Regions from separate parts of the Homo sapiens genome. Here all the other regions are linked to region 2. Evidence: promoter capture Hi-C in human tissues and cell types (Jung and others, 2019). All regions are on one chromosome and are shown on one strand. The core of a region is centred on a gene start or on the middle of the fragment in contact, and the rest is flanking DNA. Distances in the headings are between cores, read along the strand shown. Region 1 has its middle 220 kb from the start of MIR4305. Region 2 holds the start of MRPS31 (mitochondrial ribosomal protein S31). Region 3 overlaps LOC124903162. Region 4 has its middle 140 kb from the start of LINC00332. Region 5 overlaps LOC124903162. Region 6 has its middle 170 kb from the start of LINC00332. Region 7 has its middle 220 kb from the start of LINC00332.

Region 1 (3,252 bases), core at 273-2,772, 890 kb after region 2:
TTCTACCTATGGTTACCCTCTCTGAGATCTGGAACTGGCACACTTCTCTTCAGATTCAAGAGCAATAAAGAGCTCATGCATCATTATCAGTTTCTGCCATTTTAGCCCAGGGTCTTTCAACATCCCTCTTACATGCCCTTACATCTTCCCATCCTGTTTTAAATCGCTCTTTTATTAACATTTATCCCTGAGTAACAGTTTGAGAATGCCATCTGTTTCCTGCTGGAACTCTGATGGACACACTGCACCATTGGCTGCTATTGCTCTTTCAGAGAAATGCATCTGATTCTGGAGAAATGTGCTTGGATACTAGCAGATTCTGGAGACTACTTTATGTCAAGAGATAGGAATTCATTTCCCTGAATGAATTTATAGCATTCATCAGGGTTGGTAGTCAGCTTGGGGCTCAGAAAATGTCTGTTAGTGAACACATAGCCTTGGTCATACCCTGTAATCTGAAACATGAACCAATTTATGGCTTAAATACTACAGGGCAAGATTGTTCTCCCTTCATGTGCGGGCAGTGCAGAGCAGCAATTTCTCATCACAGTGGCCTGTCCCAGCAGTGGCCTGTCCTGCCTTCCCCCAAATTGAGAAAGCTAGTGCGTCCTGTGTCCAGACGAGCTGTCCATAAGGTAAGATCAAACACTAATTGTTCTCTCTTGAATTCATCCTTCTCACTATTGACATCCTTTTTTAAGCACAAACGAAGCCACTCCTTTGCCAGAAAGCACCAGTGGCTGACTTTGACAAGACCAGGATGACAAATACTCAACATGTGAGCTGTCACTCCTGCTCTCACCTCCATGGCATGCTCACCCTCTAAAGCTGCTTTCAGTCTTGGACACCTTCACCTTCCAGCTCTCCAGATAGCCACTATTTATAGTGTTCTCCACTCAATATAAATGTCTTTTACCACCTTGCTCTTCAAAATATGATGTGCTTCAAATTCAAAAGCATAGCATTATACAATGTGGTCCCAAATCATCTAGGCAAGCATCTTAGCACTTCTCTCCTATTCTTTTGTGCCATATCTTTAACACTTTGCACTAGTCATAGCACATATTGGGTATTCTAAATATATGTTAGACCAACATTTATACAGTCCTATGAATTAAAGTTCTCTGTGTTACACCCATGAACATGCAACATTTAAATCTGGAGCTAACCATAGTTTGAGTCAAATATGTTTGATGTATTGCAATAACACCAGATAATATTTGTAAATTAGCTTAGAACATTTGTTCATACATTTATTTGTACAATTTAAAGAGTAGAAAAGTTCTATTAGATGAAAGTTCAGAAATATTTTCCTTACAGAGTAAAAGCTACGAATTCAGCTTGATGTGCCTTCAACTGGTCTTTTCAAGCAAAGGGCCTGATGACATTGGTTTTCTCACAAGTGAGGGGACATAACTTTCACATGTGAGATTGACTGTTGTTTTCACTGTAGCTCAACTATCTGGACTGTAGCTTATTGTGTCTGAGACAAGGCCCAAAGCAAATCACAAATTATTGTCATTCTCCCAATTTTACCTCTCCTTGGAAAAACCAATTACATCATTTATCTGCTGACTCTTTTTTGGTGTAAGCTTATTAACACTAATTTACTGAATTTGCATTAGAATTTCAAATTTAGTTGCTTTAACAGAAGAGTAAAACAAAACCACTATTTTTTAAAATAGCGCTAAAATTTTTAAGTGTGTTTCGAGAAAAGAAATTGAATTCCAAATATAGACAACTCCTACTTATTAATGCCAATAGGGAGCATGGCAAGTTGATAGTCAGATGAATTTCTGTCCAGCAATATTTACTGAGAGACTGCTGTGTCAGAAGAGGCTGAAGACTGGAGAAGGTTGAAGGTCAAGGGAGGCCACTGCCCATCCTCCCACAGCATGCAGGCTCCTGGGGATAGAAGATGTACACAAATTGTTGTAAATGTCGTAACTCAATTATTAATTTTAAACTGAACTCTTTAGATAATATTTTCACGCACTGTTTATGGAGCATTTGTTGTGTGATGAGCAATCATTATTTTTCATGTCTTATGTCATTTAGTTCTCATGATAATTTTACGAAGTAGATTTTATTACTTATTCCACTTTAAAGATGGGGAAACTGAAGTTCAGAAAGTATGGATAATGCAAAGTTTAATTCACTAGTAAGCCAATGCTCACAAAGAGCCAGAATTTTGGAGTTATATTTTTAGACGGACACACTTTGAAAACATTAAAACTTAAGAGTACAAATCATTCAAACACTTAACTATCAGTTCCTGGATAACTCAAGATATTCCAAATACATAGTAGTTGGTAGCTGACAACCTAAAAGCTAGTTTTGTTCTGAGTAATTTATTTACCAAAATCTTTTTTACACAAATAAACTCCCTGGAAAATATTTTCAAAATCATTTCTAAAGCCGCAAAAACAAATTTAGACCTAGAAAAAATAGATTGTAGATTTTGATCTCAGCACAGGATTTATCTTTATAAATAACCCAGGGTGGTATGTGGATGTGTGGCTGAAAGTGATAAGATTATAGAATATCAACTAGAAACACAGTCACAATAGTGGAGTCTGGGGGAATTTGGCACAATTGAAATAGCTTTATTATTGTTGTTGTTTTAACATATTTTGAAAGTGGAAACAGTGGGCTAAGACGGAAAAATACTTTTCTTATGAGAGACTTTGATTTCTCTGTAACTTCCAAAATAGGAAGCAAACTGTGGAATCCAATTACTTCCACTAAGAAATTACAATTGCTAAAATTTGAGGAAACATACCTCTCTTTCAGTGCAGTGTTTCTAGGTGCCATAGAATGTGACCCTGAAAGCAGCTTTCACAATTTGAGACTCTGGGTTTAGCTACAGAAGGGTTCCAGGACTTGAGTCTCATATCTACTCTTATTTGCAGAGAGTCCAGAAATGTGTCGACAGACACAGCTGAACAAAATCTGAATGTCCTTCCAAGAGCTCCCTGCACAAATGTCCTGCACAAATACAAAAAAGCAGAGGGAACTTCTCTAAGAAGATGGCTCAAGAATCCCACAACCACAATTTCCTTGGTCAGGGAAACTGCTCTTTTGTACGAAGCAGTGGGCCAGAAGGTATTTCAGAATCTTTGGAAAGAAAGAAAATCGAGGAACTTGAGTTGCGTATATAAAGTCTTGGGTTTTTAGTCCAGGGTTCTAGAACACCCCGGCAGTTTGTGCTTGTGCTTTGTGCATTAGGGGGAGAAATGAGAGAGTCAGAGA
Region 2 (3,358 bases), core at 132-2,631:
CTTGATTATTTTTTGAGAGGACAGGGAAAATGTTGATGTAAACTTTGGAATGCCTTTATGGAATTTTAGGCTAGTGGTTCCCATGTGTCCTATTAGCCAACATTTCCCACCAGATTTATTCTCATCCCCTTCCAAGTTTGGGAACCCCACATCTCTTCTGGGGTCACAGTTCCCTGTTTCATGAGGGACAGGTAAAAGCCAAGTCTCTCTCTTGCATCTTTTCATCCTTTTTTTTTTTTGAGACGGGGTCTCACTCTGTTGCCCAGGCTGGAGTGCAGTGGCACAATCTTGGCTCACTGCAGCTTCCGCCTCCCGGGTTCAAGCTATTCTCCTGCCTCAGCCTCCCGAGTAGCTGGGATTATAGGCACTCGCCACCACGCCAGGTTAATTTTTGCATTTTTAGTAGAGTCAGGGTTTCACTATGTTGACCAGGCTGGTCTTCACCCCTGGCCTCAAGTGATCTGCCCGCCTCGGCTTCCGTAAGTACTGGGATTACAGGTATGAGCCACTGTGCCCCCGGCGTAAATCTTTTTTTCTTTTCTTTTTTGTTTTTTTGAGACAAAGAATCTCGCCCTGTAGCCCAAGCTGGAGTGCAATGGCGCGATCTCGGCTCACTGCAGCCCCCACCTCCCGAGTTCAAGCGCTTCTCCTGCCTCAGCCTCCCCAGTAGCTGGGATTACAGGCGCCCGCCACCACGGCCGGCTAATTGTGTGTGTGTGTGTGTGTGTGTGTTTGTATTTTTTTTTTTTTTTTTTTTTTTTAGTAGAGATGGGGTTTCACCATGTTGGCCAGGCTGGTCTCGCACCCGTGACCTCAAGTGACCCACCCGCCTCGGCCTCCCAAAGTGCTGGGATTACAGGCGTGAGCCACCGTGCCCGGCCATAAAGCTATTTTTGAAAAATGAAACCTATGTCTCATTTTGACTCTACATCAAAAATAAAGACTGAAAGGAAACGCTAATTCATAGGGCAGCAGGTCTTTTAGTAATTTTTTTTAAACCTCTTTGGTGGCCATGGCGCATTTTGAGAACGTGGTGAACGCTGTAGACCCTTCCCCTCCAAACATCGCAAAATATTGTCTGTTAAAGAAGAGACTGATCTCACTGGCACCATCTGTAGTTTTTGCACAACTGGTCACGCCCTCCACTGTCGGGTTCGCCGGTCTGGGACCCGCCTCGGCCAGCGAACCTTTGCTGAACTCTGGCGAGGACTCCGCCTCTAGGACTACAATCGCGGGGTGGGTCGGGTCGCTTGGAGGCAACTGGCTCCGCCCGGCCGCGGGCGAGTCCGGAACACAGTTACCCGCCCCTGTAGCCCACCGGAGCGCAAAGGGGGAGGAAGGCGCCAGGCCGGAAGCGGAAGAGAGGGCGGGGACGTGTTTGGCAGCGGGACGCACCATTTCAGTTGTGTTCTTGGTTCATTTCGTGTCTCGGCGATGTTTCCTAGAGTCTCGACGTTCCTACCTCTTCGCCCCCTTTCCCGCCACCCTTTGTCCTCTGGAAGCCCGGAGACATCAGCGGCTGCGATTATGCTACTCACTGTTCGGCACGGAACAGTCAGGTACCGCAGTTCAGCGCTGTTGGCCCGGTAGGTCCTCAGGCAACCCCGTGCCCCGTCCTGTACATCCTCCGACTTCCTGGGGTCGATGTTACCACCTGCTGGGTCTTAGAAGCTATTGCTTTAAATCTGAGGAAAGAGAAATCCCAGAAAGAAAAGATGACTTGCCCAAGGTCATAGTGTGCGTGAAAACAGAGCTACGATTACAAACCTGGTCGCTGTGCTCTACTACACGCCGCGCCTCATTCCTCTTGTCATCATCTCCTGTCAGTTTACCCAGGTTTTTATCTTTTGCCTCCCAAGATTTATTTGATAGTCTCATTTGTTTTCCTTCATTTATTCTTTAGTTCATTACTGAAAAACTCGAAAAACAGCGTGCCAGTACTGGTTGTAAACCCCAAGTGAGACAGTCCTGCCATCACGGAGCGTGTAGTTCCAGAAAGTAGACAATTCAAGTGCTATGTAGTGAAGTAATAGCTGAGATAGTGTAGGTAAACAGAGTACACTATTCAGCCAACATGAATGAGTACTTGCTGGGATAGCAAATAGGGACACCTAACCATTATAGGGGAGACTCAGGATATCGTTTCTGGAAAAGTCTGACGAAATCTGAAGGAGGACCACTGGTTGAAGTTAGCCAGGAAAAAAGGGAATTGTGGCATACTTGGTTTTGGTATTTATCCTCCGAGAACTTTATTATGAAAACCTAATTCCGCTGCATAAATTCCATGCGTAACACTCAGAAGGCAGTTTGGTTAAGTACAGTGCTGAAGCAGGTTAGTAGCAGTGAAGATGGGAAGGACCAGCTGAATGGAGGAGAAAAATTGCACAGGTAGAATTAAAGGGATGTGACGTCATGGGATAATGGTAGGGTAGTCAGAGATAGCAAAAATTTCAACTGGCTGCGTTGGAGTATTAGGGTATCCTTAATGTTAACAGAAGAATGCGGAGCCAGGCTTGAGAAAGATTTTTCCATATATTATAATTTTTAGAAAACAACAAATACCTGTTTATGTTAGGGGGCCTTTTAATATAGAAAGTGTGAAAAATGGAAAGTCAGTCTGAAAGAGGAGTCTTGAATGTGGTGTTGAAGGTGTTGCATTTGAAGTACTGATGAGCTGCTGTCAGTGGAAACAAACTCAGGTGGGAGGTTAGGTCGAGAGGTTTATTATTTTTAGTGCTAGGGAGTTACTTAGACGTGATTTTCCTATAATGTAGATTGTTTTCTGTGGTATGATAGCAGTCTTGAAAGAAAACATTGTAGTAAAGATTACATGTGAGATTCATTCCCCTGATTACCACTTTTCTATTAAAATACCTTGAATAGTAACTTTAAATGTAAAATAATGACCATTTTCTTAAATAGATTGTACCATATATTGAATATTATAATGAGAGTCCTGTGTACTGATTATGAGGATACTAGTTATGCAGTTGGTTTTTTATTCTAATTTTTAAGTGCCTGATTTGATAGCCTCTGACGTTTTCATAAGCAGATCAAATAGTTTCAGCATTTTTTGAAATTGCCATTTTCTCTTTCATGTAAGTATCCTTAACCTGCGGCTGCCATTTTCTGGCTTTGAGAACTTGATAATATATATATATATATATATATATATATATATATATATATATATATATGGACAGAGTCTTGCTCTGTCGCTTAGGCTGGAGTGCAGTGTGTGATCTCGGCTCACTGCAACCTCTGCTCCCTGGGTTCAAGCGATTCTTCTGCCTCAGCCTCCCAAGTAGCTGGGACTACAGGCACCCACCACCACACCTGGCTAATTTTTGTATTTTTA
Region 3 (3,172 bases), core at 526-3,025, 680 kb after region 2:
AGTGAGACTCCATCTCAAAAAAAAAAAAAAAAAAAAAGAAATGACGGAAGACCTGGAAGTCACTTAACAAGCATCTGGAACATATAGGTGGAACAAAATAAGAGTGGAACAAAAGACCAAGAGTTTATTTTTAAAAGAAACAGGCAGTGACTTAATAGAAATCAATTGGCTGGATGAAAATGTTAAAAATTTAGTAAATAAGTTTGTCCTGCTACCTTAGTTTAATCAGCAGAACCATCTTTTTTGGTTGTTGTTGCTGGTGGTGGCACAAGAGCAATAATTACTTCCTCTCCCTTGTTAGGGACCCACCCCCTCAGTAGTGGCCATAGAGGAAGAACCCCCACCCCTCTAGAAGTGCCTCCTCCTCAGGAGGCCAAGGAGCTCTGAGAATGCACATTCTGATTCCTCTGGTACATAGTTTAGAAAGGCCTCTCGTTATTGTCAACTGCAAAATAAAAAGCTTCTTTGAGATGGCCTGTCCCATTTTAATGGCCCTTGGAGACATGCAGATAACTTATGGAGCCTCCTAACTTTGTACAAAAGACAAATGAATTATAAAGGTCACATAAACATATTGTTGAAAGTAATAATGGCATTTGTGCGGCACATTATGGTTTGCAAAGAAATGCCTCCTGTTACCGTATTTGAGCTTCGTAAAAACTCTTTGTAGTAGGTTGTTATTCTGAGTAACAATAGCCCCTTATATTTCTTGGCTTGAAAATGTACTTTTTCATTATATTTATTTGATTGTATTTCTCTATTGCTTTCTTTGGTATTCCTAAGTCATTTTTATTTCACTCTCCTACTCCTAAAACCGTCAATACATTTCTAGAATTAGATAAAATCTCTCATTCAATGTCCTTCATATTTCAGCTCAGACCATTCTTCCAACATATGTCCTTATGCTCACCTTCTTGAAAACACCTTTATCTTTGTTCTCTCTGTTCTCCCTCCTCCAATCCTTTTTTTTTTCTCTTCTCCCATCTTCTCTGCTTTTACCAAGGCTCCATCCTTGACTTCGACCAGCCCCTACAGGCTTCCTTAGATATCACCTCCTTGGTTAAAGTCTTTCCTGCCAATACCCTCAAACTTGGATGTGATATTTTCCTTTTCAGAATTTTCCATTTATTTGATATATTTGTTTCGAAACTTATGTCGTAACAGTGGCAAGGACATTTAGTGAACTAGTTTATTAGATTAAAATTTCTTGAAGGCTATGGCTTTGTTTTCTTCTTGATTCAAACCCCAGATCAAGTATCATTTCAACTATGAATTGTTTTCCATGGACAGTTAATAATTCCCTTTTCTCCCTATCATGTATTTTTTATATACTTTACCCAGATGTGCTAATCACGTTGTATTGAAATGGTTGGTTTTAATGTTTGTCTTCCCCGTTAAGCTAAAAGCACCTCAAAGGAGCACAGCATAGTTGTTAAGCGGCCAGACTGCCTAGGCTTAAATCTCAGCTCTGCTATTTACCAATAGTGTGACCGTGGGCAAGTTACTTAACCTCTCCGTGCTTCAGTTCCCTTATCTTTAAAACGGAGATAAAAATACTACCTTTCAGAGTTGCTGCGATAATTAAATTAATTAATGCATATAAAATGCTTATCAGATAGTATGCAATTATAATTATTATACTATGTTGTCCTTCATATTTTTATTGACAAGAACAATGCTTAAACTAAGCAGGCGCATGACAAATGTTTGTTGAATAAATAAATAAAAAAACGAGGGAAGATGCATAGGATGCTTCTTTCTAATAGATTCTAAACTCAAAGATAGAGACCGTCCTTCACCTGTAGATTTTCCACAACAAATTAATGACGTTTATAACAGATGATCAATAAGTATGTGTGGCGCATACTTTATAAATATTAATCCAGTGACTGGCAGGTTGAGAAAAATAAAAATAATAAATTGTGCAATGAATTCAGTTTAATCAAATAAATGATCACACAGGATTTTACATTAAGGTTGTGAGACACATTTCCCTCTTGTTTTAAAGCTCCCTGTTGGGAAGATGTTTCAACATGCATGGCTGTGCTTAGCCAGACCTTAGCTCTCTAATAATACGGAGGAAACCTGCCAGGTAGACATCAATTGGGGATGCCATCCCTGGGAGATAGATGAACATCACAGTGGGAGCCAGGATCACGCAACAGAGGTGGAGTATTAACACAGCTTCTGTGGCTCCCAAAGGGTGGAATGCAGACTCCAGACAGACCACTCTTTGGAAAGGTGTAGACAGCTGTGCAGTAGCCCCACTCTAGATCTGATAGATGTGGACTTTGAGCCAAAACGGAGGCTTTGGCTGGAAGAGTGAATCAACCGGGATTTTGAAAAGGCAGATTAGAAAAAAGAAGAAAAAAAGCCCTTCTTGGCAGATGAATCAGACAGGTATGGGGCTATTTCACAGTCCAGCAAATGTGCACATGCACACTCATGTCAGCGACCACAGCATGAAAAAAGCAGGGACCTGTTTGTTCAGTTAGAAATGCTTACCCCGGCCTCTTCCCCTCCCTTTCTGCTTTGTCACTCATTCTGTGTTGGATAGGTGTTCTTTTTCCCCTCATCCCCTCGGCTTTTTAAAGTAACATTAGCGGAGCAGTTAATGAGGCGGTGGAAAGCAAGCTGGTCTGTTCAGGGTTGCTAATGACTCCATTCCCGGGAGCCTAATCAAAGATTTGTACATTTAATTGCTGTCAAGCCACCGCCAACCACCTGCCATTTCGGCAGCACCTCAGCTCCCAGCTCGGTAGCCCCTGATTCTAAATGAATCCATCACCATTTCTAAAGGCCAGGAAGCTAGGCTGCTGGGCAACTTTGAAGTGGGCTTGTCCAGGAGGGCAGAGACCAACAGGCCTAACGGAGAGGTGTCACTTCCCTGACAGGGCCAGCATTGGAGAGGCGCCTGCACTTTTCTAGGATCCAATTTCTGCTTTTTTTTTTTTTTCCAGGGGGAGGAAAAGATAGGTGTGGTGAGGGTGACAGTGCGGAAAGGAGGAGAGGAGGAGAGAAGGTGACATCTAACCACATTCTTCAGAATCTACTGATGCTTTTATTCTCAGGGGTGACAATTTCTGACCCCAGCGCATGGTTGTGCCACAGATGAATGTTTGCTGGAGATCCTTTCCAATTAAAATGGTGATTGTTCTATTGCTTACCCCCA
Region 4 (2,970 bases), core at 212-2,711, 730 kb after region 2:
GGTCTGACTTCCAGCAAAGAGGAGCTTTCTGGGCTCTCTGCACGTAATAATTTGCTTGCTCTTCCTGAGAAAACCTGCAATTGTTCAGTGATATCTGTAAGTGGGAGGACATGTTGTCTTTTTGGACAAAATATTAGCAAGGGTAAAGATCTGAGGTATTTCCTTTGATTGCCTTCATCAATAATAAAAGCAATATTTTGAGATTCATCTGGCTTATTCCAATGTCTATCTCTCAATTCTATTCCAGCTTGGGAAAGTAAGAAAGTAGCATTATTTATTCATTTTTTAAACTTTCAATAAGTAGGTAGCTCCACTTTCACATCTGAAAAATGGGGTTAATAATATTATTAAGTGAGTTAATATGTATAAGGTGTTTAGAACTTTGCCTGGCAAATAATAAGCACTTAATAAATATTAGTTACTGTTATTTGTGTTAAATTACTGCATGCCAGAACTGGGCTAAATCCTTTACACTGCATCTTCTTGTATAACATTGAGAAGAAATCTCTAAGGTGCACACTGATTACTCTTAGGTTACAGAGGAGGAAGCTGCAACTTGGGGAAGTTAAGTCACCTTGTTGAAGGTCACACATTTTGTAAGGTCTAACTTCAAAGTGCATAGCTGTCTTTTGCAAACACAAGCCATTGGTGATAAGTGGGAGAAACAAGAGAGAGAAAACCATTTGTGACAAATTTGTCACTACTACTGGAGAAGAAATTTAGAGTGCAGTTCCTACTGATGATTAGCCAACTAACAGCATCGAGTCCTGAGAAAAGGACAGTTAGTTTCTCATGATCTTTAGAAGGACCCAGTTTAACAAGAGTTAAATCCAAGTTGATGTTACATGTTCATGGATCATCAAGCATGCCCAAGAGTATTCTTGAACAATTTAAATATCACACCATTACCACTGAAAAGATTTGGGTCTTTGCCAAATGTTTGGAGCTCCAACTCCAGTTCTTTTGGTGCTTTATCTCCTTCATGAGAAAGTCTGAAGAACCCTATCCCTCAGCATTCCAGTGCGGCTTAAGTTACACCACTCCACTCTTAAAAATGGTTTCAAAATCACTTAGCCTTTTCTCTCCTCTCCAGTAATCTGGGCTAGCCAATACCTTTCTTTTCAGCATTAACAGCCTTGCAGTCAGGCTTACTGCACGTGCTTCTCCTAATCATTCCTGAAGAGGAGAAGAAAAGATCTTTTAGGAAAGAATATACGCTATTTGAAGCAGATCTTGGATCAGTGCTTGGTGGAGAAAACATGAGTTGTTAGAGAAAAACATACAGGTCCCTCAAGCAGATTTGGATCTTGCTAACATTCACGCAGGTGTTTGGAAAACCACGTATCTTTACAACCTGAATCTGAGCCAGGAGTTAAAGAAAAAGATATGTTTCTTACACTTTTGTGAGAAGATATATGTGATGGGGGACTTTCAAGAACTACAGTCATCTCTGGAGCCAAAATTTTATAACACTGAGAAGGGGGCTGTGCATTAAATTTCAAAGTGTTATTCAAATCAAGCCAAGCTGTCCAAATATCTGGAGTTAATGAATTAACAAATATTCAGAACATGTGAACAAAATCAGACAAACTTTGAAGTTTTTTTAAAAAATATGTATCGTATTTGTGTGAAGTCTAGTTTTTATTATCTGGTTTGTTATGTCTTTGGGCAAGTATAAATAGATTCTCAGGGACCTCAGTTTCCCTATCTGCAATTAGGACTAAATACAGCACATTGGCACATAAAGAGGCTTCTTATATAATGCCTATATTTCACTCTGACTTTCTTGGTTACAGCAGCTATAAAACCACGAATATCTGAGCCAGATTTTCCTTATGTCTGAACAACTCCCCCAAGGAATAAGTAAAGCACTTTTCAAAAGTACCATTAGCTCTTCTGAATTGCTGCTTTCTTGGATTGTATGGTACCCAGGTGGCTTTTAAGTGTTAACCCAACCTCCTGAAAACTGTCTCCCTGGTTTCCAAAGATTAACTAAGGCAATCGGAAGGTAAGATCTGCTCATTATTTTAACATTTTCTATATTTTCTTTATAGGGCATATTCAGCTAGCCCACCCCAGAGTTTCCATTTTATAAGAATGCTCTTTCCTAACAAAAAGGAATATTTATGAAGCTTTTTCTGACATCTCCAAAATCAGAGTAATAAAAAATTGTTTAAATTGCTAATATGAAACTAATGTTAAACTATGATAAGCAATAAGGTATAATTGCATGAGAGATTTAACAAAATTCTACCGTATTACACACTTGTATTTGTAACTATTAAGTTCCAAGCTTCAGAAAGAGAAAAAGAGGTAGTTTGTTAAATTATAGGATTCAGTAATCATAAAAGGGATGGTCTCTGCCCAAACTTCACATAAATAAAATTTGTGCGTGTCAAGGGGTTTTGATGGAGACACAAATTTTACTCATGCATTTTACTCTTGAGGCTTTATTATGTTTCCAGGATCACAGTTGAAATTATAGCTTTGAAATGTCCAGAAATGTACTCTTGATTTCTTAGGTAAATTATATATGAAGATGTGCTTTAAGTATTTAAAAAATTTATAGTTGCTTTAAACGGTATTGAATCCAAGGGTCTTTGGGCCTCAAAATAGAGGAAAAAAAACCACTGCTGATTTAAAAAATAACATTTCCTTTTTCTTAAAACATTTCCCTTTTCTTATCTGCATTATAGAAAATTTAGGAATTGTACATAAGCACAAAGAAGAAAAAATCATGCATAATTCTAGCATTTAGGAATCAAGATCATTGTACTGTTATTACATATTCTTTTCTCCATCATTTATAACGACCATGTGGTATAACATTGTATGGATATACCATAATTTATCCAACCAACTCCTTATTGTTAGAAATGTAGGTTCTTTTTTTTCCAAAACACATAAAATGACAATGGGTACTGCTGTAGGTAAATATCTGTACAGATCCATTGGATCATCTATGATTAA
Region 5 (3,224 bases), core at 141-2,640, 650 kb after region 2:
CAAATTTTGAATGTCACGATCAAAGGAGAGTCTGAATAGTTGAGTGCTCTTTAATGGGCATAGAGAAACCATTAGAAAATGTAATCAGTCATATTTGATGACTTGACCTTGGGACTCAGCTAGAAAAAGGTCTAATCATGTCTATCCCATAAGTGACACCAGGATGGCTCTGCTGAAATTAATTGATCATTACGTACTTTCTGAGAGTCTCATATACCCTATTTGATGGAATATAAATTGCAAAAATAATCTGTAAATTATATAACAAGCTTCAGAGTACATTTGCCCTCTGTCTCCTTAGCAGAGATTAAATCTGACAGCTAGTTTCAAAATGATCAAAATTGCTTAACTCCTTCAATAGTTTGGAATGCTTGAGATTTACAAAGGAAAAAAAAATCTATTGCTCGGCATGTGCCCAGTATATAAATTTGAATTACAATCCATTCTCTATCAGTAAAATGTAGAGATAAAAAGAGGTCTGAAAAGGTTTTCTGGGGGCTTGAATGCATTATTTTATTCAATTGCTTAGTAAGGTACTTAGCTGCTATTAAAAATTTGGATGCATGTCAGAGACAAGGAAGCTGTTTTGAATCCTATCCACTTCAGTGCTAAGTATATGAAAGAATTAGATGTCTCTAATAAGCCAGCCAGCTTGCTAATGTGATATCCCACAGACTGGCTGAGCCATTCACAATGACAGTGCACTCCACTGATTATCTGTAGGTTAAAGGTTTCTTGTCATCCTTTCAGGTGTCAAAATGATGATTCCAATTACCTCTCTCTGTTTATGTGTACTTTTCTGGGATCAAGACATTCTGCCATTATAATGTACACATTCCATGACATTTTGGTTAAAGTTGCAGAAAGTCTCCCTCTAGAACTGCCCCTCCCACCTCGGAGAATTATTCAAATAATTTTCCTTTGGGCTGGCACTTTTCATATTTGAAATAAACCCTTCTAGGATTTTTCTCCATAAATGTTGAATGGTTAACTGTTGAGTAGAGGAAGACCATCTGTTCTTGCCTAATTGGCATAATAAAGGAAGACCACATTTTTGGAGCCTGGAAAAAAAATATGTGTCATGAAATGGGCTCAAGCTAGTGTTCTGCATAAGAGACTATGCTCTAGATGCCAGGACAGTGGTAGGTTTTCCAGAAGAAAGCTTTCTGGGAACTTGACCTTTGTTATCTCTTGGGAGTGGAGTTAGGGGTGGCTCAGCTATAGGAACCATATTTATTACGTTAGGGCTCTGAATGACACTATACAGATTCAAATCCTGGCTCTATCACTTCCTAACTTTGAGTCTTGGGGCAGATTTCATAGCCTCTTAAAGTCTCAATTCCCCCCGCTGTAAAATGGAGATAATCATGAAGATTATATGCAATAACACGTGTAAAATGCTTGGTAGGATGTCATGCACATAGACTTGCTAAACTCTTCATCGTAATTAAAGCATACAATGATTTGGTGTCTATTTTTTCTGAGCCCTAAATTGGGATGTGCGATTTGAGAAAGGATTATTTTTCTTGGCGTGTTAAATTTTTGATATGAAGAGTCTTACAAAGATACCAAAATGCACTGTATTCGATTTTTCATTTCACAAATCCCCTTTGCAACAACTTCTCCTGGAGTGAGGATGGGGGTGAGGGATAGGAAAGGGTTTCAAGACAAGGTCTGCACTGAGAGGCAGGGGCCTGAGCTAAGGTCTCAGCTCAGCTGTAAATCAGCTGTGCAAAGTTGGGAGCAAGAAGTCTGTTTCTTCTTTGGGCTCAGATTATTTGTGTAAAATGACAAGGTTGAAAAGACTGTTGAGGTTGTCGGGAGCACCGAATGTCCAAGATTCTATATTGCTGATCGTCTCTGTCAAAGTATTTCCTGCCCCACTAGCCATGACATGGTCTATAGGCAGAGAGAGTGTGGGCACATACATGCCTGCATGAGTAGTGGTGGTGACCCCACACCTGTGGACTTCAGCCTCATGCTCCCTGACTCCTCTGTTCACAGCACATGGTCCCATGTGTGTGGCTTCTTTTGGGTGGCCACTCACTAAGGCAGCCTTTGGGAACCATGGCTTTCTTTAAGAAACATCAAACAAAAATCCTACACTTCCTCTCTTTGCGCCACCCTGGGAGACTCTGAAAAGCCTTCTTCAAAACCCCCAGTACCACTCCCTATGTTACAGGATATTATTTTGGGAGTGTTGCTTTGTCCCACTTTGTTTCACCCCTCCCTAGATACCCACTCCAGCAGAGGTCATAAAAGGGCATTCATTGAGGGCCAGTTTCCCCAAAAGGAGTTTTCACAATTGGAATTAGTTTCCAACATTTAAAAATAAAAGGATATTACATAAAACCCAGATTGCTGACTTCTTTTGAAAAAATTTAAAAAGGAAAATATGACCAGAGTTTTCCCAAGAAGGATGACCTGGTCCTTACACCAGAGGGTGAGGAGTCAGCCTGGGATCTGAGCAGGGCAATGCCCTGGGTCCCCACTCCAGGAAGTCTCAGTAGCACATTGAGCACTGTCCCCTCTCACCTCTGTTAGCTCCACAGGACCATCATGTTCACCAGTCACCTTGAGACCCTTGCTGGTAGAGTGTCAGGCACATAGGGTTGCTAAACTCTTCTTCATTATTAAGCAAAGCATACAGTGATTTGGTGTCTCTTTTTCTCTGAGCTCTAGATTGGGAGGCATGACTTGAGAATTATTTTTCCTGGTCCCACTTTGGAGAACCTCACTTCTGTCCCCTGACTTGCTTCAGTCCTGAAGTTACCTGCTGGGCATTTTCCCCTTTCCTTAGGTTCATCCATGAAGTCAACCTTTATAAGTTACAGTCCTTGAAGATTCCATCCTTGTGATCATGCAAATCCCTGGAACAGGAATTGCATTTTGAGCTTTAAATAAGTTATGCATTTAAAGACCAAAAGCCCTGAGCACACGTTTTGCTAAGAACTGGGAGGAATGAGTTTGAGGACACATAGCAGCTGGGTTGGGTTAGAGGATTAAACCAAGAATCTGAGAAGGGTGGGAGTGAGGGTGGCAAGAGACTGCTAGCTTTTATAATCCTTCCTCAACTAGTTCTGGAATTCTGAGTGGAAGCAAGAGGCAGGGAGAAATGGGGCATGAGCCAGCCCTGTCTCATACAGTTATTCTCCTCTTGCCTAGACCAGCTCTACGCAATGTTTTGGGGCATTGGTTCTTCCAGCCTTCTGCTGTCTATAAGG
Region 6 (2,971 bases), core at 20-2,519, 750 kb after region 2:
TATTTTGCTTATTATCTATCCTTCCCACATGAAAATGCAAGCCACATTAGGTCAGGAATTTTTTTCTGTTTACTGTTGAGTTTAAAACAGCTCCTGGCATGTAGTAGGAGATCAAAAATATTAACCGAGTGAAATAATGAATCATGAAGTTAAGCTCGACTCTGCCATCGAAATGCACCATGTACAAGAGGCTCGGCATACCTTCTGAAGGGTAATAGGGATTCTCGCCATACAATCACAACAATGAAAAAGAGCTTCCACAGAGTAAACGCCACCAAAGGAAGGAACAAGTACAGCTTCTGACCTTGAGACAGAACACATTAATTGGAGACCAAACACATAATGCATGAAAAAAAATAGACTAGATCCACAGAGCAGCATGTCAACATTAACAATTAGATACAGCAAGAGATTATTTCTAAAAGTGGTGAGTCATGGAGCTTTATCGTACAAGAGCCTGTTATATAAAAACAAATCAATAGGTACCTAAGCACTAGATAGTCTCATATAAACCTTATATAAGGACATTTGCAGAATTATTTTTAGAAGGGCTCAAGTATATACACTGAAAGTGTTTATAATGTGAGTACATAAAGCATATTTCTTAGCAAATACTTTGTTCCCTGAATAAACACATTCCACCAAGTGGCAGCACCAGCACCTTAAAGAAAGAGAAAACTTGAAACTACTAGGAGCGCTCTGAACAGGCACAAGGTAATCACCAAATTGGGATCTGGGTATCACCTGATAGAAGCCAATTAAGTCTTGTAGAGGTGGAAAGAGACAGAAGGAAATAAAGTTAAGGGTAAAGTAACCCTGAGATATTTGCTTTTGATCTTTCTCCTGCTCCACCTATTTCTTTTTCTTTTGTTTTTCCTTCTTTACATTCAATCTCTCCCTCTAATTTCTCAGATGAGCAATTAAATCCCCACTTTAGGTATAAGTCCCTGAAGGCAGTCATTAATAAAAAACAATCTGCAGGTAGCTTGTGTTATCCGTTTTGGTGCTGATTCACCAAGTGTTCTTAAGTTGTGTATGAAATGCTCTAAGTTCTTTGGAAGAAAATCACTACACAAAGCAGAGGTTTATTATGATAGCATCAACTGCTGTTCTTTGCCTAAAAATAATCCCAGTTTCACTTCTGATGTCTAGAAGCTTCTCTGTTTTTTCTTTCTCTATTTTCTTTTTTTCCCTCCTCCTACCATTAAAACTTCCAGCAAAACAATAAACTAGCTCATGGGGGTGGCATAATTTCAAGATTCAAAACAGAAACACATCTTTACATGAATCTACACAGTTGTGGACATTAAAGAGCCTCTTATTAAGGGTCCAACACATTTAGATAGTAACAGAATATGTGAATTTCTGGAAGTATAATTCAAAAATATGTTTTCCATTGCATCAGAAAACATTATATTCATTGGAATGGCTCCCTTACATTACAGTGAGCCAAGTTTCAGGAGCATAGCTGCAAGGTGCAGCAGGTCCTTGAGACCAAACCACACATGCATTGGAACATAGTGAACTTGATCCCCACGGTTAAAATGTTCCGCTAAGCTCATTTCTCATCACTTTGTAGTTCAGAGGCAGACTACTTCATAGTGGAGAGTAAACCCAGACATAACTTAATGTTGTGTTACACTAGATTGTACAGCCATGCAGTAAAATGTTTGAGTGACTCCAATAAATAAATATACACCTATTGATTTAATCATAAATTACATAAGGTATGGAATAGTATGTACATTAAAACATATAATATAGAACAGTTTCAATGATGAATCAAAGACAAACAGGAATTTTAAATATCTTGCTAATCACAATGGCTGTATATTCTGATTAACTAACATCTGAAGGCTTAACATAAGCTTTAGCCAAGGTTCATCTTTAATGATAATGAAAGTAAATCCCAATTTCAAAGTCTTCTTAATAATGCCAAATGTCTTCTGCCAAATTCTTCTCAGGTGTGATGAGACCATCAATGTCTTGAGCCCATATTGTGGCTGACACAGAGCCTTTACTAGGGAGAGAAGGAAGGCCAACCTACCACCTTCTTTCCTTGTGCTTATCTCACTTGCCACGATGCATTGTGGGTTTCATCATGGGTTCTTTGCGGGATTACTTTTAAGTCAGTTTTTGTGATGGTTGGTTTAACTAAAACTAGATCATATAATCCTCAAACTCAAACTCTTTCAACAAGGGCACATGTAAATGCCATGTACTATAATATTCTGGAAGCAACGGAGGCGGAAGGGCACCTGTGACTCTCAGTGGTGGAGCTCTTCTTTCATGTAACATCAGACATGAGGACTCATAAATGATAGTAAAGTTTATTATCTTTCTTATTTTTTAGATGAATATAGAAGATCTACTATGTTGTTTTCCACGTGGGGCATCCACTTTGAAAACTACTGCTCTAGAAATTTTTTCAAATGTGGGCTTCGTCTTATTTTGAAAATATGATATTTTATGATGTTGGTGGTCCCGGTTTTAATTTTGAGGTACCTGTATGAAAAATATCACATTAGAATAAACCTGGCAAATCTTTCCCCCATTGAGGCGACAAGATAGCCAAATGTCAGATTTTATGGTCCTTGTGTTTTATTGTCTTTCCTGGCACCAGCTGATAATGATCCTTCATCAGTAACATTGTGCCTATAATTGCTACTGTTTCTTATTAAAAAGTTGAAAGTGGCCGGGAGCGGTGGCTCAAGCCTGTAATCCCAGCACTTTGGGAGGCCGAGGCGGGCGGATCAGGAGGTCAGGAGATCGCGACCATCCTGGCTAACACGGGGAAACCCCGTCTCTACTAAAAATACAAAAAATTAGCCGGGCGTGGTGGCGGGCGCCTATAGTCCCAGCTACTCAGGAGGCTGAGGCAGGAGAATGGCGTGAACCCGGGAGGCGGAGCTTGCAGTGAGCCAAGATCACACCACTGCAGTCCAGCCTGGGCGACAGAGCGAGACTCCGT
Region 7 (3,366 bases), core at 397-2,896, 810 kb after region 2:
TATTGTCATTCCTAACCCCAAATTTCTAATTCGCTCTCATGTTTGGAAAGCTAGTCTCATTATTTTCATTGATTGAACTCATAATAAATTTCAATTTATACCAGCAAATTCATATTAATAAAATGTCTTCTTATATCTGGGTACATATGGTACTTCCTTAGAAGAGTTTGTTGGGTAGGAGGGATGGGATAGAATATTTCTGTTTAAAACAAGTATTAAATTGTCTGGACTACCCTATGCACCATGGAAAATCAGGGAATTGGACTTTTAAATTATATTAAAGCTTCTGGCCAGGCACAGTGGCTCAAGCCTGTAATCCCAGCACTTTGGGAGGCCAAAGGGGGTGGATCACCTGAGGTCAGGTGCCTGACCAGCATGGCAAAACCCTGTATCTACGAAAAAATACAAAAATTAGCTGAGGGTGGTGGCATATGCCTGTAATCCCAGCTACTCAGGAGGCTGAGGCAGGAGAATTGCTTGAACCTGGGAGGTGGAGGTTGCAGTGAGCCAAGATCAAGCCGCTGTACTCCAGCTTGGGTGACAGAGTGAGACTCTTTCTCAAAAATAAAAATAAAAATAAATAAATAAATAAATAAATAAATAAATAAATAAAATTCAACTTTCCTTCCAGCTCTACAACTCACTTTTCTCATCTGAAAAATGTTCAGACTAATTCTGCTCTGACTACCTCACAGGTGTGTTGGCAGAATTAAATGATTGATAATAAATGTGAATATATTGTTAAAGTTATAAAATGTTGTTCAATAAAGAAGTTTCCAATATTGAACCAGTATTGAATTTGATCAGATTGCCAGGTCCCTTGAGTTGTCCACATGTGGGACAAGGGAGTACAGGTGAAAATAGCTTTCTGAAGAAAGAAGTGGGAGCATTCAGAGAGCTGCAGTGATTGGTCCATGCCTCTTGGTAGGCACAGCTGCAGGCTGAAGCAAGCACCTGTTTCCCTGGGCCTCTCTGTAAATGACTGGGACTCAATGAGTGCACCTCAGAACTGCAGTGACAGAAAATGACTCAGAACCAGGGAAAAAGATGTTTCCTCCAGGTGACATGGCTGAAAACAATTTGATTATAAGCAATTAAATTCCAAACAAAATGGCAGTGATGAAAATCGACAACTTAGCTTTGGATGAATATTTGGTTTGAAAGATTGTTTCTTTTTTTAAAAAATAAATATGTCTCAAATACAATTTTTTTTCCTGCATGGAAAATTTGGGTTCATCATCAGTTAGTTTTGCAACTATGCAAATGTTAATTATTTTTGCTTTTAAAAAATGTATTGGTGAATAAATACATTTCTCTTTTTTCCCTAGTTTTCTTTCTTCCAATGCATTTTCTGCCAATGAAATAATTGTACTCTGTGGAGTTTGTAATAGTGAAACTGTGCCAGCAATTTAAAAGTTGCTTCCAACTCCTCAGTGTTACAAATAATGCAGGGCAGGAACATTTGGCTGAAAGTAATTGTGAAATTAAAAATCATAAAAGTAGAAAAATTCTGAAGAGACATAGATGTCAACTGAGGATATTCCATTTGGATCATGTCATCATGCCAACCAAATTATTGTCCCGAGTTACTCATTTTCCTCCAAAACACACTTCAAGTTTCAGCATCTTGGGGAAGCTGCAGAATGCAGGGCTCTGGGCAGGGTCAACATTTTCACCACAGACCAAAGCTCTAGGGACAGTGGCAAAGCATCCTCTTTGCATGATGGCCTGGACAGCAGACACCAACAAGGAAGGCATGGAGGGGAGCTTGAAAAGATGACTAATAAATATGTGTAAGATGTCCCCGGCCAGACCCATCAGTCATTTAACGGGCTTTAGGGGAAATTGAATGTCTTGCAGTAAGCAGTTAAGTCCAAAAAGACAATGAAATTTAAAATGTCACTGTTAATGGTATTTCTTGTGAGATCTAGGGAGATTCAAATTATACAGCTGTAAGAAGTCATTATACACTTTGCCATCACCTTACCACTCATTTCAGATAGTGATTGTCAAGATAGGGTGCATGCTATTCACAATAGCAAAGACGTGGAATCAGCCCAAATGCCCGTCAATGATAGATTGGATAAAGAATATGTGATACATATACACCATGGAATACTATGCAGCTATAAAAAGCAATGAGATCATGTCCTTTGCAGGGACATGAATGGAGCTGGAAACCATTATCCTCAGCAAACTAATGCAGGGACAGAAAACCAAACACCACATGTGCTCACTTATAAGTGGGAGCTGAACAATGAGAACACATAAACACATGGTTGGGAACAACACACACTGAGTCCTGTCAGGGGCATGGGGAGAGGGAGAGCATCAGGAATAATAGCTAATGGATGCTGGGCTTAATGCCTAGGTGATGGGTTGACCTGTGCAGCAAACCATCATGCCACATGTTTACCTGTGTAACAAAACTGCACATCCTGCACATGTATCCCAGAACTTAAAATAAAAGTTGAAGGAAAAAAAATAGGGTGCAAGCAGAGATACAAAAGATGATCCAGTTAACCTAAAACTGCTCTAAAAATAGTCCGTTTTTAAAAAAGATAATCCACTGAGGTATGGGAAAACATTACAACTTTCATTTTTATATGCAAAAATATCAATGAAATGAAATACGCCAATATGTGATATAAGAATTAGCACCACCTCCCACACTTGCTTCATACAGTCAATGGTCCTAGGTCATCAATATCATGGGAAGAGTGAGTTACTTGCCTGAATTATCTGAATTGTGATGTGTTGCAATTGATATATGCCATAGTTAAATGGATTGTATTATTTAATTCTAACTAATCTAATAATCTCCAAATATACAAGTGGTTTTAAAAAGTTTCTACAAATTAAATAGAGATTACATTCAGTATAATACTAGAATGAAAGAGCAAGTGATCAGTAAGAAAATTTTAGAGCTTTTGCATCTCCTTCTAATACGAACTTTTAATGAGCCATAAATGTAAACTTTCCCTTCACTGTAATGGTAACCTTACAACAATACATTAAAAACGACCTGCTATTTGAAAGGAAATGTTGGCTATAGAGAGAACACTGTGGAAGCAAATGTCTGGAAATGTTCCCATCGTTTTATTATTTTAGTGCAAGAAGCAATGTATTTTACCTTAAAAACTTGTAACTTACTTAAGAAACTCAGAAACTTTTTTCTAGCATGTTTAAAATCCCTCTATTTTTTTTAAAAAAGATTTGTTGCTGTTTTTAAACTCATTTGTTAAAAATGTTAAAATGTAACTACTTCTGATGAATTGAAAGAACATCTGATTGACATCAGGGAAGACAGAAAATTCCTAGCCACGTTTCAGTAAAACTTTTATACAATTCGTGGAAGGGATGGAT

Evidence for each region. Contacts are between HindIII fragments. The study calls those that stand out against the background at their distance.
Region 1: a contact is called between a fragment that was not itself captured here and the fragment with the promoter of MRPS31 in region 2, in 1 of the 25 tissues and cell types used here (mesenchymal stem cells).
Region 3: a contact is called between a fragment that was not itself captured here and the fragment with the promoter of MRPS31 in region 2, in 2 of the 25 tissues and cell types used here (H1 embryonic stem cells and spleen).
Region 4: a fragment that was not itself captured here is called in contact with the fragment with the promoter of MRPS31 in region 2 in 4 of the 25 tissues and cell types used here (dorsolateral prefrontal cortex, hippocampus, lymphoblastoid cells and 1 more).
Region 5: a fragment that was not itself captured here is called in contact with the fragment with the promoter of MRPS31 in region 2 in 2 of the 25 tissues and cell types used here (dorsolateral prefrontal cortex and liver).
Region 6: a contact is called between a fragment that was not itself captured here and the fragment with the promoter of MRPS31 in region 2, in 2 of the 25 tissues and cell types used here (H1 embryonic stem cells and spleen).
Region 7: a fragment that was not itself captured here is called in contact with the fragment with the promoter of MRPS31 in region 2 in 1 of the 25 tissues and cell types used here (heart left ventricle).

The regions. Positions count from the first base shown.
Region 1 is chr13:39,879,150-39,882,401 of GRCh38, reverse strand. No RefSeq gene overlaps it. Among named protein-coding and RNA genes, the nearest start is that of MIR4305, 220 kb to the right of the region's middle. The HindIII fragment of the contact is 4,152 bases long and covers 1-3,252 here.
Region 2 is chr13:40,769,213-40,772,570 of GRCh38, reverse strand. MRPS31 (mitochondrial ribosomal protein S31) reads left to right here and starts at 1,381. Exons shown (of 7, transcript NM_005830.4): 1 at 1,381-1,586. The coding sequence starts at 1,435. RefSeq lists an enhancer at 1,323-1,492. The HindIII fragment of the contact is 6,562 bases long and covers 1-3,358 here.
Region 3 is chr13:40,086,855-40,090,026 of GRCh38, reverse strand. The region is part of intron 4 of LOC124903162; the gene reads left to right. Among named protein-coding and RNA genes, the nearest start is that of LINC00332, 93 kb to the left of the region's middle. The HindIII fragment of the contact is 4,453 bases long and covers 1-3,172 here.
Region 4 is chr13:40,042,025-40,044,994 of GRCh38, reverse strand. No RefSeq gene overlaps it. Among named protein-coding and RNA genes, the nearest start is that of LINC00332, 140 kb to the left of the region's middle. The HindIII fragment of the contact is 3,135 bases long and covers 1-2,970 here.
Region 5 is chr13:40,121,700-40,124,923 of GRCh38, reverse strand. The region is part of intron 1 of LOC124903162; the gene reads left to right. Among named protein-coding and RNA genes, the nearest start is that of LINC00332, 58 kb to the left of the region's middle. The HindIII fragment of the contact is 3,529 bases long and covers 1-3,154 here.
Region 6 is chr13:40,014,609-40,017,579 of GRCh38, reverse strand. No RefSeq gene overlaps it. Among named protein-coding and RNA genes, the nearest start is that of LINC00332, 170 kb to the left of the region's middle. The HindIII fragment of the contact is 6,324 bases long and covers 1-2,971 here.
Region 7 is chr13:39,961,409-39,964,774 of GRCh38, reverse strand. No RefSeq gene overlaps it. Among named protein-coding and RNA genes, the nearest start is that of LINC00332, 220 kb to the left of the region's middle. The HindIII fragment of the contact is 4,852 bases long and covers 1-3,366 here.